Regions from separate parts of the Homo sapiens genome. Here regions 2, 3 and 4 are each linked to region 1. The links are contacts of gene promoters, found by promoter capture Hi-C in blood cells and fetal thymus (Javierre and others, 2016). All regions are on one chromosome and are shown on one strand. The core of a region is centred on a gene start or on the middle of the fragment in contact, and the rest is flanking DNA. Distances in the headings are between cores, read along the strand shown.

The links. The method cuts DNA at HindIII sites, captures the fragments that hold promoters and counts their contacts. A CHiCAGO score of 5 or more calls a contact.
Region 2: a contact is called between a fragment that was not itself captured here and the fragment with the promoter of NLRP10 in region 1, in 1 of 17 cell types (M2 macrophages). The highest score is 5.0, in M2 macrophages.
Region 3: a contact is called between a fragment that was not itself captured here and the fragment with the promoter of NLRP10 in region 1, in 1 of 17 cell types (M0 macrophages). The highest score is 6.2, in M0 macrophages.
Region 4: a contact is called between a fragment that was not itself captured here and the fragment with the promoter of NLRP10 in region 1, in 1 of 17 cell types (M0 macrophages). The highest score is 6.0, in M0 macrophages.

What each region holds. Positions count from the first base shown.
Region 1 is chr11:7,964,197-7,967,289 of GRCh38, forward strand. It overlaps NLRP10 (NLR family pyrin domain containing 10), which reads right to left and starts at 1,251. Exons shown (of 3, transcript NM_001391958.1): 1 at 1,050-1,251. The HindIII fragment of the contact is 1,817 bases long and covers 919-2,735 here.
Region 2 is chr11:7,046,662-7,049,754 of GRCh38, forward strand. NLRP14 (NLR family pyrin domain containing 14) reads left to right here. Exons shown (of 12, transcript NM_176822.4): 5 at 7-171; 6 at 3,010-3,093. Among named protein-coding and RNA genes, the nearest start is that of NLRP14, 28 kb to the left of the region's middle. The HindIII fragment of the contact is 3,423 bases long and covers 1-3,093 here.
Region 3 is chr11:7,094,433-7,097,525 of GRCh38, forward strand. No RefSeq gene overlaps it. Among named protein-coding and RNA genes, the nearest start is that of RBMXL2, 7.0 kb to the left of the region's middle. The HindIII fragment of the contact is 1,994 bases long and covers 408-2,401 here.
Region 4 is chr11:7,117,715-7,120,807 of GRCh38, forward strand. No RefSeq gene overlaps it. Among named protein-coding and RNA genes, the nearest start is that of RBMXL2, 30 kb to the left of the region's middle. The HindIII fragment of the contact is 1,133 bases long and covers 1,084-2,216 here.

The DNA.
Region 1 (3,093 bases), core at 1-2,500:
CAGGCATGAGCTACTGTGCCCGGCCAAGTTTTAAGTTTTAAAAGTGAGACTGTCCCTGGCTGTGTGAACCTATAGAAAGCTGGAGCACATTTGCTGGAACTGCTGTGGTATGGCAAGAAGGTAAAAAAAATCTACACTCAACCCATTGGCCTCACATGTCAGCCTCCTGGCCTCAGTCACACAGGGATTGCAAAGCTAGAAGTCTCCTAATTCAAATAAGGAAACAAATCCAGATAATGATAGGAAGAGGAACCGCCACCTGTGAGTGCTGACTTTGTGCCAGGTGATTTACATATCCTTTTTGATCATCTCAGAAATCGTCTCAGGAACTGTTCCACATGAGAAATTTGGCAGTCAGAGAAAAATGGTTTTTCAGAGTTTTCCAGAGCTAGGCCACCGGGCAAAGAGGCAGGATTTAAACTGGTCTATGCCCTGGGTGGAAGAGAGAGACAGAAAAAACTCAAAAGATAAAGAAATAGAAGACAGAGTCAGGAACCAGAAAGTTAGGCTAAATGTTGCCAGAAGCTGGAGACATGTATAAATACTAAAGTAACGGGAAAGGAGAGCAGAGTTTTGAATTGTGTTTCTAATGTAGAACCAAAATGTAGGCCAGGTGGCAGTCTTTGGAAAAGAAAAGCAACAATTAATAGAAAGCCTTCAGAATCCAGAAATACACCTGTGACCTAAGGCCCATAGGGAACCCATCTCAGTAGTACAATGTCACATTCATCATTGAGAGTGTTCAAAAGAGAATTTGGGAACACAGAGAGTTGTTGCCATTCAAATACCAACATTTTGACTACATACTGACAGAGAAAGAAAATGTTTGGAACATGTTAGGATACAGGGGACTTTGGTTGTGAGTCATAGGCCAGTTTGGAAAAGCAGGCCTGTGAAAGCAGGATCAATTTACAACAAAGCTTCAGGCTGCATGGGAAGACTCAGGGCTTCCCTGCAAATTTCTGATGTTGGCAGAGCTATTTAATAATTCAGGAAAGAAAAGACAACACTAGAACCTGCCAAGAAGATGTCCAGTCTAGGCTGCTTACCACAGTTCAGACTTGGGGAGCTGGAGGTGAGGCAGCGAGAACTCAGCTCCCTGATCCAGGAGCCCAGTAAGCAAAGCCTGGGGACTGAGACGAAACAGATCCCCTTTCCTGGTCCGACAGCTCTACAGGTCCAAGTTTGGGCTCTCTTAGCCCATACTCACTAGTTCACTTCTGTTTGGTGGTGCTGGTACCTACCAGCTACAGCTTGATACCTAACAGTTCCTAGTATATAGGCCTGGAACAGAAGGGCCCCTCCCCATCTGCCCCAAGCCTCTGTGAAGCAGAACCACCCACTGAATGTCAGTGGGATGACTGTCAATGGGATGGGCAATTGCTCACCAGTGGGAAACTTGACCTCATTTTTTCAAATGTTGAAGTTGAGAAACAAGGGAGGGGTGGAAGGCATGAACTATTCTGTCACCAAGAGAAAAAGAGCCCAGGAGACTTCCCACATCCCTCCCTGGAACCCACACTCCTCCTCTACCACTTAACCCCAGCCTAGGCTGGGGCAGTTTGACTAGAGAGACGAAAGAATTGAAGCACTGCCACCACCATATCCTCCGCCAGTGCACCATTTCTCTAAGTTGTTGAAATCACTGGAGAATGAAAAAGGAAGAAGATAGGAGCTCCATGAAGTAGGAATTCAAACAAGGAGAAAAACAGGCCAGGCATGGTGGTTCACGCCTGTAATCCCAGCACTTTGGGAGGCTGAGGTGCGTGGATCATTTGATGTCAGGAGTTTGAGACCAGCCTGATCAACATGGTGAAACCCTGTCTCTACTAAAAATACGCAAATTAGCCGGGAATCATGGTGCATGCCTGTAATCTCAGCTACTAGGGAGGCTGAGGCAGGAAAATTGCTTGAACCCAGGAGGCGGAGGTTGCAGCGAGCTGAGATTGTGCCACTGCACTCCAACCTGGGCAACAAAGTAAGACTTTGTCTCAAAAAAACAAAAAAGAAAAAGGAGAAAAACAAATTCCCAGAAGGCAGCCAGTCCTCTGGCCTAGAGAGCTGAGGATCCCCAAGAGCCCTGACAGAAAGAGAACAGGTTTCTCCAAAAAGAATGTCTCCAAGAAAAAAGAAAAAAGACTTGCTAGACTAGCTGATGCTATTGGCCTTCTAAAACAGCCTATTGGGAGGCTATTAGAAGGTGGAAAAAGCTAGCAGTAACTTCCAAGAAAACCAGATAAATGAAAGTAAAATAAAGAAATTACTAGCAAGAGGAGAAACAAAAAATAAAATTGGAAATATAATAGTAAACTAATATACTCAAGTGTGAATAATGTTTGCATAGAAATCATAGTGTAACCACTGAACATTGCTCTAAAATTTAAAATATAATTACATTGAAAGGATGGTGGTGGAATGTACTAGAAGAGGAAGTTGATAGACAATGCCTAAAATGTTGAATCAAAAGATAGTGATATACAGTACACATATTACTTCAAAATGCAGAGATGTAAGAAGAAATAGTTAAAATCTAATGTATTAATAGTTGTTTTAGCGAAAAGAGACTGGGCATCAGGAGAGGAAAGGACTACTGTTCCAGGGCATAAGTTTTTTAATGCCTATTGACTTTAGAAATCATAACCATGTATTACTTTGAAAAGATAAAAATTAACTTAGCAAAGAAACAGTAAGAGGTAAAGAAATGGAGTTAACATGTATAGACAAATCTCTCTGGAAGCTTGGTAACAAAAGTGATGAGAAAGGTCCTGAGGTAATATGGGAGATGTGAAGTCCAGAGAAGGTTTTGTTTGCTTTAACATGGGAAAGGGAGGAATGTACCTGGATGCTGATACAAAGCCTCCCATAGAGAGGTCAGGTTAGAAATGCAGAAGAGAAAGGCAAGCACCAGAGGGGGGAATGGAGAATGGGGATTGGGACAGGATTCGAAGCAAAGGCAAAAGATTGGCCTTTGACAGGAGGCTGGAAGGAACAGCATCCATTCATTCCTGAGGAAAGTGACAGAGGTTGTTTGGCAGAGAAAGTCAGGTGTGTGGGTTTTGTGGTCAGAAGATAAGCATGGTCATGTCTGAGTCT
Region 2 (3,093 bases), core at 219-2,718, 920 kb before region 1:
GCAAAGGGATGGTGATCGCATTACTCACTGTTGGCAAGATCTCTGTTCTGTGCTTCATACAAATGAACACTTGAGAGAATTGGACCTGTACCATAGCAACCTTGATAAATCAGCAATGAATATCCTGCATCATGAACTAAGGCACCCAAACTGTAAACTACAAAAGCTACTGTAAGTCTGGTATGAGAAAATTTAATGGAGTTATTCTAATTTCTTTCTGTGTCCCATCTTCCACTCATACTCGTTAGGGGAAGCCAATGCTAAACAAATACTTACAATCCATTTTGTAAAATAAACAGGAACAATGGAATCCTCTGGGGACATGGGATCATTACTAACTGGTTCTCAGAGTGATTCCACAGGGCATAGTAGCTGTTCACATGGGTTTTTCAGGCTTGATTAGGAACTTTCTAAATGAAGAGCACAGAGCTAAAACATTCTAGGCAGGTCACCAATGCACTTTCAAGGACATGTTCTGGAACTTACTATCCTCTTAAATTTTTTTCTATTGAGGAAAAATTTGCATTTAACAAAGTCCACAAATAATGTTCAGTTTGTTGTGTTCTGACAAGTGTAAACATCTTTATAACCAACACACCCAAAACAAGATAGAAAATATTTTCATTTATCTCAGAAAGGTCCCTTGTACCCCTTTCGTTTTTTTTTTTCCTGAGACAGGGTCTTACTCTGTTGTCCAGGCTGGAATGCAGTGATGCTATCGCAGCTAGAACTCCTGGGCTCAAGCAATCCTGCCACCTCAGCCTCCCAAGTAGCTGGGATTACAGGCATGTACCACCATGCCAGGCTATTTTTTTTTAATTTTTTGTAGAGATGTGGTCTCACTGTGTTGCCCAGGCTGGTCTGAAACTTCTGGGCTGAGGAGATCCTCCTGCCTCAGCCTCGTAAAGTGCTGGGATTACAGGCATGAGCCACAATGTCCAGCCTATCCCTTTCTGTTCAATCTTCTCACCCCATCCATTCCCAGAGACAATCATTTTCTAATCTCTGTCACCAGAGTTCAGCTTTGTATCTTTTTGGAATCATTTTGATTGATTTATACAGTATGTATTTTTTTTAATTTATCTTCTTTCTCTTTCTTTTCTTTTCTTTTTTTTTTTTGAGACAGTCTTGCTCTGTCACCAGGCTGGAGTGTAGTGGCACAATCTCGGCTCACTGCAACCTCCGCCTCCCAGGTTCAAGCCATTCTCCTGCCTCAGCCTCCCGAGTAGGTGGGACTACAGGCACGCAGCACCACACCTGGCTAATTTTTGTATTTTTAGTAGAGACAGGGTTTCACCATGTTGGCCAAGCTGGTCTCAAACTCCTGACCTCAAGTGATCTACCCATCTTGGCCTCCCAAAGTGCTGGGATTACAGGCATGAGCCACCACACCTGGCTATATCCATCTTCTTGTGCTCAACAAAATGTCTTCTAAAATTTATCCATTTTGTTGCAACTTTTAGTAGTTTCTTTTTTATTGCTGATTAGTATTCCATTGTATAACTATACTTATACTATAATTTGTTTATTCATTCTCTTGTTAATAGACCCCTGGAGGTTTCCCTAACCTGTTAGGAATAAGGGTAATCTTTGCCAACATTAGATGCTGTCAGTCTTTTTTAAATTTTAATTTATCTTAATTGGATTCTAGATAATCACTTTAAAATGTTGATTGTTCACATGTCTCTTACCTTTTTGTGTAAGGACTCCACTAGGAGCTGAAACTGATCCTAATCTCTGTATTTTGTGCCTGTCAATATGTACAAGGTACATTTGTTGCTTAGTATGAACTGAATGCTGAACAAATGATAGATCTTTGTTTCCATTAGCACTGAAAATAGATGTTCTTTTGGGTGGGGGCTGGGGACAGGCTTCTCACCAAATATTTTCCTCCTGATCTCAGTGTTTTTAGTGAGTTCTGACCTTAGATTTCAAGCATCTAGAGTAGGCTTGGTCTTACATATAGATGTAGTAAGACAACTAGATGTATGTTATGATTACGGGGTTCCTGGAAGTCCTTTCCACTCATCCCTAAACATTTCCCCCATATTGTCCCTTCATTGGATGTCATCAATCCGGATCTTCACAATAGCCAATGCCTTCTTGGTTAACTGACTTCCTTTCTTAGAATGGGAGGGTTGCATCAGTGGGATGACACCATGATGACTGTTCTCAGTCTGTGCCACCTTAATGTGGTCTGTCTTACTGTGGTCCCTTTTTCCTAATAAGTGAGATGGTGCCATTTATGTTTACTGAGTGCCTTAGGCACTTTTACTAGATGAGGATGGTTAGTGCTATAAATGGGTAAAGGCTTTATTTTCCTGTGTGTACTTGCCTGGGGTGAGGGGAGTGAGGGTGGAGGGTGGGTGGTGGGCCGAAAGGAGGAAAGGTGGTGTTACAAAGCGAGGTTTTGGACAGTGAACAGAAGGGCATTGGGGACTAGCAGAGACACTATAGAAGAATCAGAAATATCTGACATTGACTGAGTTAGGAGGTAGAAAGTAGGAAAAAAATTGGCAGATTTAACTTCATAATATTTTGCTTGGGCTGCCTCCGTACACCTGCCTCCGTATGCCTAACGAAGTCCCCAAGATGGCACAGCATGTTTTGCAACAGCGTTTTGTTATTACTGCACATCAGACAGTTGATGCTAATTTTGAATTAACCTTGGATTATTTAAAGATTTGGCTATTGTGAATTAATGTTATTGTAGTACTTGGAATGGCCCTGATAATTTTTGATAGTCATTCCTGGGATTACAAGTTAAAGAGGCTCCTCTTCTGCTTTTCATGATGTTATCACCTTCTTTTCCGTTAAGGTAAAAAAAACTGGGGAGTGTCAATTATCAGGTCATAAATAGAAATTGAAGTTATAACCCAATTGTTTTAGATGAAAATAAGATAAAAGAATATTCATGTAATATCCAAGAATTAGATTGAAAAGAAAGGGATCCTGTAACCAAGGAGAGAAATGGTTTTGTAATACCTCCTGCATATTTTTCTTCTGAAGGTTGAAATTTATCACTTTCCCTGATGGTTGTCAGGATATCTCTACTTCTTTGATTCATAACAAGAATCTGATGCATCTTGACCT
Region 3 (3,093 bases), core at 155-2,654, 870 kb before region 1:
CTGGGGATAGTTACTGTGTTCTCATAAATGTTTTCCTCTTTAGAATGTGTTTAAGAACTCACCAAGCAAAATAAGGCTGTATTGCTCTTGCTGTGCACACATGATATCCAATGCTCATGGCAATTTCTTTCAGAACCTACATGTTCTATTTGTGGTGAAGTTTATTCTGAAGCTAATTACTCTTACAGTGTAGCACATCTAAGAATGATTTTAAAATGATTTTGATAAATATTTTGTGAGTGACATTGAATGAACATATCAAGCACAGAAAATTAGAGGAACGACATAGCAATGATGTCCTTGTTGAATGCATCTCACTATCATATTTATTAAAGTGCTCAAGGGGAATAAAAAATATGAGGACCTATTATGAAAATTTTAGAGAAAACAGTAGGAAGAAATAGTAAAGCTTTCTCAGGTTTGAAGGCTGCTTGTTATAGTAGAGAGAGAATCTTTTGATCATATGCAGAAGCTCTCATTCTGTTATTCATGTAGCTTGGACAACTTTCTTAAAACTTTAGACCTTCCGTTTTTTTCATGTGTGGTGATAATACAGTTTCATCATATTTATGGAAGTTTTAAATAAGATGACTCATATACAGCACCCAGCACAGTGCCTGGAATGCAGTGGGGTTCGTTAAGTGGTAGTATTACGGCATTCTGCAAAGCAGTAGCACAGACTTTCCTTTGGAATTTATCATTTATATTCCTAGTAAAATTGCTTCTATACTCAAAAGTCTTCAGAAAAAGTACACTTGAGAGTTTTAATTGTATTTACTCAAGCTGCACTCATCCAGCTTGAAATCTTGGAGATATATTTGACTCTTTATAGTCCCCATTAATTTTCTGCTGCCTCTTTCTTCTTCACCTCTTCAGTTGAGGGGACCAGAACTTCCACCATGGGCTCAGTGCCCCATTCCTAACCAGTCAGAAGTAAAGCAGGTTGATGTTATTATAAAGGCTTGATTCCTTCTTATCTGTTAGGGTTTAGAATTATTGCTCTCTGGCATAATTGGCTTAGACTCAATTTTGCCCCAGAAATAAAGTGCCTAGTGCAGTGCCTAGATTTTTAAAAAATGTAGCTGTTTTTATTGTTATTTACAGTTGACTCAGGCTTTGGGGCACCTAGAGAAATCTCTGAGTTGAAGAGTGTAGTAATTTAGAATAAGTAATATGTAATCTTGTAGACCTGAATTTAAATCCTGTGTCCACCATTCACCAACTGTGATCTTGGTCGGGTTACTTAATTACTCTTTGTGTTTTTTTCCCCTTACCTATAAAATAGGGTCAAGAATGCTCCCCTCATGAGATTGGTTGTCTATCTATCCATTTATTCATTGAATCTAATTTTTATTTATGTAGTACCCACCAAATGGCAAACGCTGTGCTAATATCACGCCAACTAAGGCAAACAGAAAAGCAGCACCAAGATCACAGTTAGTGAATGATCTTGGTCAGGTTGCTCTTTGTTTTTTTCCCTTATCTATAAAATAGGGACAAGAATGCAATCATACTTATTGGCCAGATTAATATTCATTAAGGACGATTCACAGAGACAGTGGAGTAGTACTTGCTAGTTGCCCAGATGCATTCTGTGGGAATACACAGAGATTTAGCATGACTGGACTTCAGCTTTGGGAGAGGAACTCCCACATTTGGGCTGTGGGGCTTTTGAGTTGCATAATATAGGAGATTCCAGCCCCTACCCTGGAATAATTAGGGGTTAGGATATAATAGCAATATGTCATGGCAGAAATAGCTATAACCCTGTCACTTCAGTGCTCGTGGTTGTGGATTTGCAGGAGTTGAGGACTTGATAATAACATCAGTCTGCCCTAGACAGGTTGACAATGGGTCACTGAACCTTGCAGTCAACAGCTGGAGAAGGGAGAGACAGTAGAATATAAATGGGGCTGAGAAGAACATGTTTTTTGTGAATAATACTTTTATCTAAGGTGGTAAAGGGCTGGAGTCAAAGTCTTGTAATTGAAGCTGTATGGCAGCAAAGCAAACTAGAGGCAGGACTTGCTACATCAGCATTCAAGATTGAGAATGTACTAACATTATAGCTGCAGGGGTAACTGTGGCCCAGGCTGTGCAGCTGACCATGATTGACTGCATTAAAAATGGGCTAAAAGCAGCTTTCAGTGAAATTTGCAGAAGGCCAATCCTTTCCAGGATGCCAATCTACTGAGGATTAGTTTTGGATAAATTAATCCTTGTCTCTTAGCTAAGCAATGGAGACATATTGGTGAGCCAAAGTAGACATTGTTAATCCTCACATGGAACAGTGTTCAAAAGGTAAGATAGACTGGTTAAATTGTCATACAAAAAGCAACATTTTAACCATGACAAGCACTATGAAAGAGAGATACATAGCACTATGAGACATGTTTTTAAAAGCTTGATGTAGTATAACAGGGATCCCCAACTCCTGGGCCAGGAACTGGGCTGCACAGCAGGAGCTGAGTGGTGGACGAGCTGGCAAAGCTTCATCTGTATTTACAGCCGCTCCCATCACTTGCATTACCACCTGAGTTCCACCTCCTTTGAGATCAGCAGCAGCATTAGATTCTTACAGGAGCATGAGCCCTATTGTGAACTGCACATGTGAGGGACCTAGGTTGCATGCTCCTTATGAGAGTCTAATAGTTGATGATCTGTCACTGTCTCCCATCACCTCCAGTTGGGACCATCTAGTTGCAGGAAAACAAGCCCAGGGCCTCCACTGATTCTACTTATGGTGAGTTGTATAATTAATTCATTATGTATTACAATGTAATAATAGTAGAAATAAAGTGCACAATAAATGTAATGTGCTTGAATCATCATAAAACTATCTCCCCCGACTCCCTGGTCCCTGGAAAAGTTGTCTTCCACAAAATTGGTCCCTGGTGCCAAAAAGCTTGGGGACCACTATATATAGGACACCTAGAGAATGCATCCTTAAGTGATAATTGAACTAAGATGTGAAGGATGTATAAGAGCTAAATTTCTGTGAAAATTAAATGAGATAATATATAAAAAAGCATGTAGCACATAGTAACCCTCAGTGAATGAAGACTGATTTTCTTATACCTATTCTCTTTTGAC
Region 4 (3,093 bases), core at 400-2,899, 850 kb before region 1:
AGCAATCAGAGAAGGAGAAAGGAGCAACTCCTGTTTCAGGGAAAATTAAGAGATTTTGGAAGACCATGTTCTTCTTGTTTCTTCCCTTCAACCCACAAGCCTGGTCTTGCACAGTGATGCCACTTGGTATGATTTAAGGAAAATCTCCCTGCATCAGCCTACTTTCCTGAGAGGTTCATTGAACAAACACCCAGAAAGGCATAAAATGGCTATTAGGAACTAACACACTAGTGTGGCTTCATTTAATCAGCTTGCTTTCCTAATGCAAAGTAAAGTCCAACGGAAAGAGCAGTAGGAATTGTGTCGAGTTAAGGCACAGGATAAGAATGAAGTGAGGAAGATAACAACATTATTGAATGCCAGAATAAAAGCTACAGATGCATAGTGGATCAGCAGAAAGGAGTAGAGGGCATAGTAACGTTGAAAGAGGCATCAATGGGGAAATAAAAGGGCAGAGATTGAGAGACCATATATAAGAATGTATGTTATAAACAGGTGGAGATGTGAGAAAAATCCTTTCTACTCGAAGTGTGGTCCTCAGATCAGCAGTGATGTATCAGCTGGAGCTTGTTAGAAATGCAGGATCTCAGACTCCACCTATAATTAAAATGCATTTAACAAGATCCCCACTTGATTTCAGTGCACATTAAACTTTGAGGAGGGTGCATCAAAGGTACACACATGGATGATGAGAAAACCTTGCAGATGGGTGGTGGAGGGAGCAGCTTGATGGATGAGATGAAGACATATATATATATATATATATATATACACAAAAATGTGCCAGGAGGAAGGTGGTCATGGAGTAGTTTGTGGGTAGTTTAGCTGATTATGAATTATATATTAGTTTCCACTCATGCTTTCAGAGCCTCAATGGTATGAGACAAAGCATGAGAGTGTTAAGGAATGGAGTGGGAGATTCCTAAAAGATTCTGATGTTATTAGGAATTGGTTTTAATTTTAGGCTTTTGTCACTGAATGTACATTTTTCTTCCCTTTTGTTTGTTTGGCTATTTTTAATTGAGAAAGCTGTATTGTGGGGAGCTATTCAAAAGTGACTTAAAGCAAGAAGTCACTCCCATAAGCTTGGCTTCTGAACATTCTTGCTTCTTCCTCTCATTCTTCAATCATTTTCTCATAGGCTGTTTTGCAAGTCTTCAAGTCTTCTAGGCATCCCTTGGATGTTTTTGTTTTCAGGATCTGTTCTCGGCTGTCTCTTCTCTTTTCACAGAACAAAATTCTCTAGGTTGTATAATCGATTATTGCAGTTTCCACTACCACTAATACACTAGTGACTTTCAGAGTTTTATCTTCAGTCTTGTTCAATTGGGAGCGTCAGACCTACTGCTCAGTTCATATATCTTACTGGATATACAACAGGCAACTCACATGGTTATGGACTGAATGTCTGTGTCCTTCCGAAATTCATACATTGAAAAATCCCAACCCCCAGTGCAGTGGTACTGGGGGAGGGTCTTTGGGAGGTAATTAGGTCATGAGGGTGAGGCCCTCAAGAGTGGGATTAGTACCCTCATTAGAAGATACACAAGGGAGGTGATACCTATTTCTGCTATTTGAGGATATAATTAGAAGATGGGCATTTGTAAACCTGGAACAGGGCCTTCACCAGAACCCAACTATACTGGCACTCTGATCTTAGACTTCCAGTCTCCAGAACTGTGAGAAATGAATGTTTATTCTTCAAGCCACCTAGTCGATGGTAATTTGTTATAGCAGCCTGAGCTGGCTAAGAGAGAGACTCAAGAAGTCACAAGCTGAATTCATCATCTTCTTTCTAAAACACCCTCTCTATACTCTACCAGTGAATGTTACTACCATGATCTCAGTCTCCTATGCAGGGATCATAGATGTCCCTGTATGTTTCAAGTTTTTCCACGTTCTCCATCTCTAATTATCATTAAAACATATTGATTCTATCTCCTTAACACTTCTGCATCCACCTTCTTATTTCCATTCACATGGCTATTGCCTTGGTTCAGTGCCTTCTAGATCCCTTCCCTGATATATCACAGCAGTCTTTTAACTATTTGCCACCTTCAGTGTAGCCCCATTTCAATTTTAATCTCAATGCTTCAGACAAAGTGGCATTTTAAAAACTCACATTTAGAACTAAAATATCTCTCATGTTAAAACTAGACAATAGCTCCCCATTAACTATTGAATAACTTTTAAACATTTTTGTAAATAATGTATAAAGCTTGTATCCTGCATATTGTACAGCTTTATCTCTCATTGCAGTTCTCTCTGCAGGTTTTGTCTTCTGCTTAAAATTTTCTGAATAGAAAAATCTGTTTCATACCTCCATATCTTTGTTCGTGCTGTGCACTCTACCTGTACCTTCTCTGTCTCTTCTCTTTGCCAGATATAATTTTAAGGGCTGAACAGTGATTAGCTTATACATAAAGTCTTTCCTAACCACCCCCTCCATCTTTTGTATGTACACTGAACCTTATGCAGCCTTGGATTATCACTCACATGTTCCACCAACACGGCAGTTCTAAGGCCCTGGTCTGTTTACATTATTGTTCTTACTCTTCTGATGCTTAATTGCAAAAATGTCTATTCCTGCGAGACTGCAAGGCCTGGGTGGAGGAGGCATTTAGGGCCTAGGAGACAGCATTGGCTAATGGATCCTGTGGGGCTGGAGCTAAAAAGGCATTGTTTATAAATAAAGGAAATGGCCAAAAGTAACGGGAGCCAAGTTTCTCACTGTAAGAGAAAGGATATTCAATAATTTAAAGGGTGAAAATTAGAACAGAATGGTGTTCCATCAGAATTGGAGATACCAGTATGATGAACTCTTGAGAGAGATATATATTTATATTATACACACACACAAACACACACACACACGAGAGAGAGAGTGAAAGAAAGGAAAAGGACATAGCCCTGTATGTGCATGTGTAGATAGATACATGTGTGTGTGTGTACATTTTCTATATTTTCTAGCTTTTTCTGCTGAGACAGCCTAAAAGCAATGGAGCCCCAGCAGCAAAGAACACACATAGTGTCCAGATCTGGACTTATATATGTATGTTTCTCCAATAAGAGAAACAAAGACTTTTTAGAGAA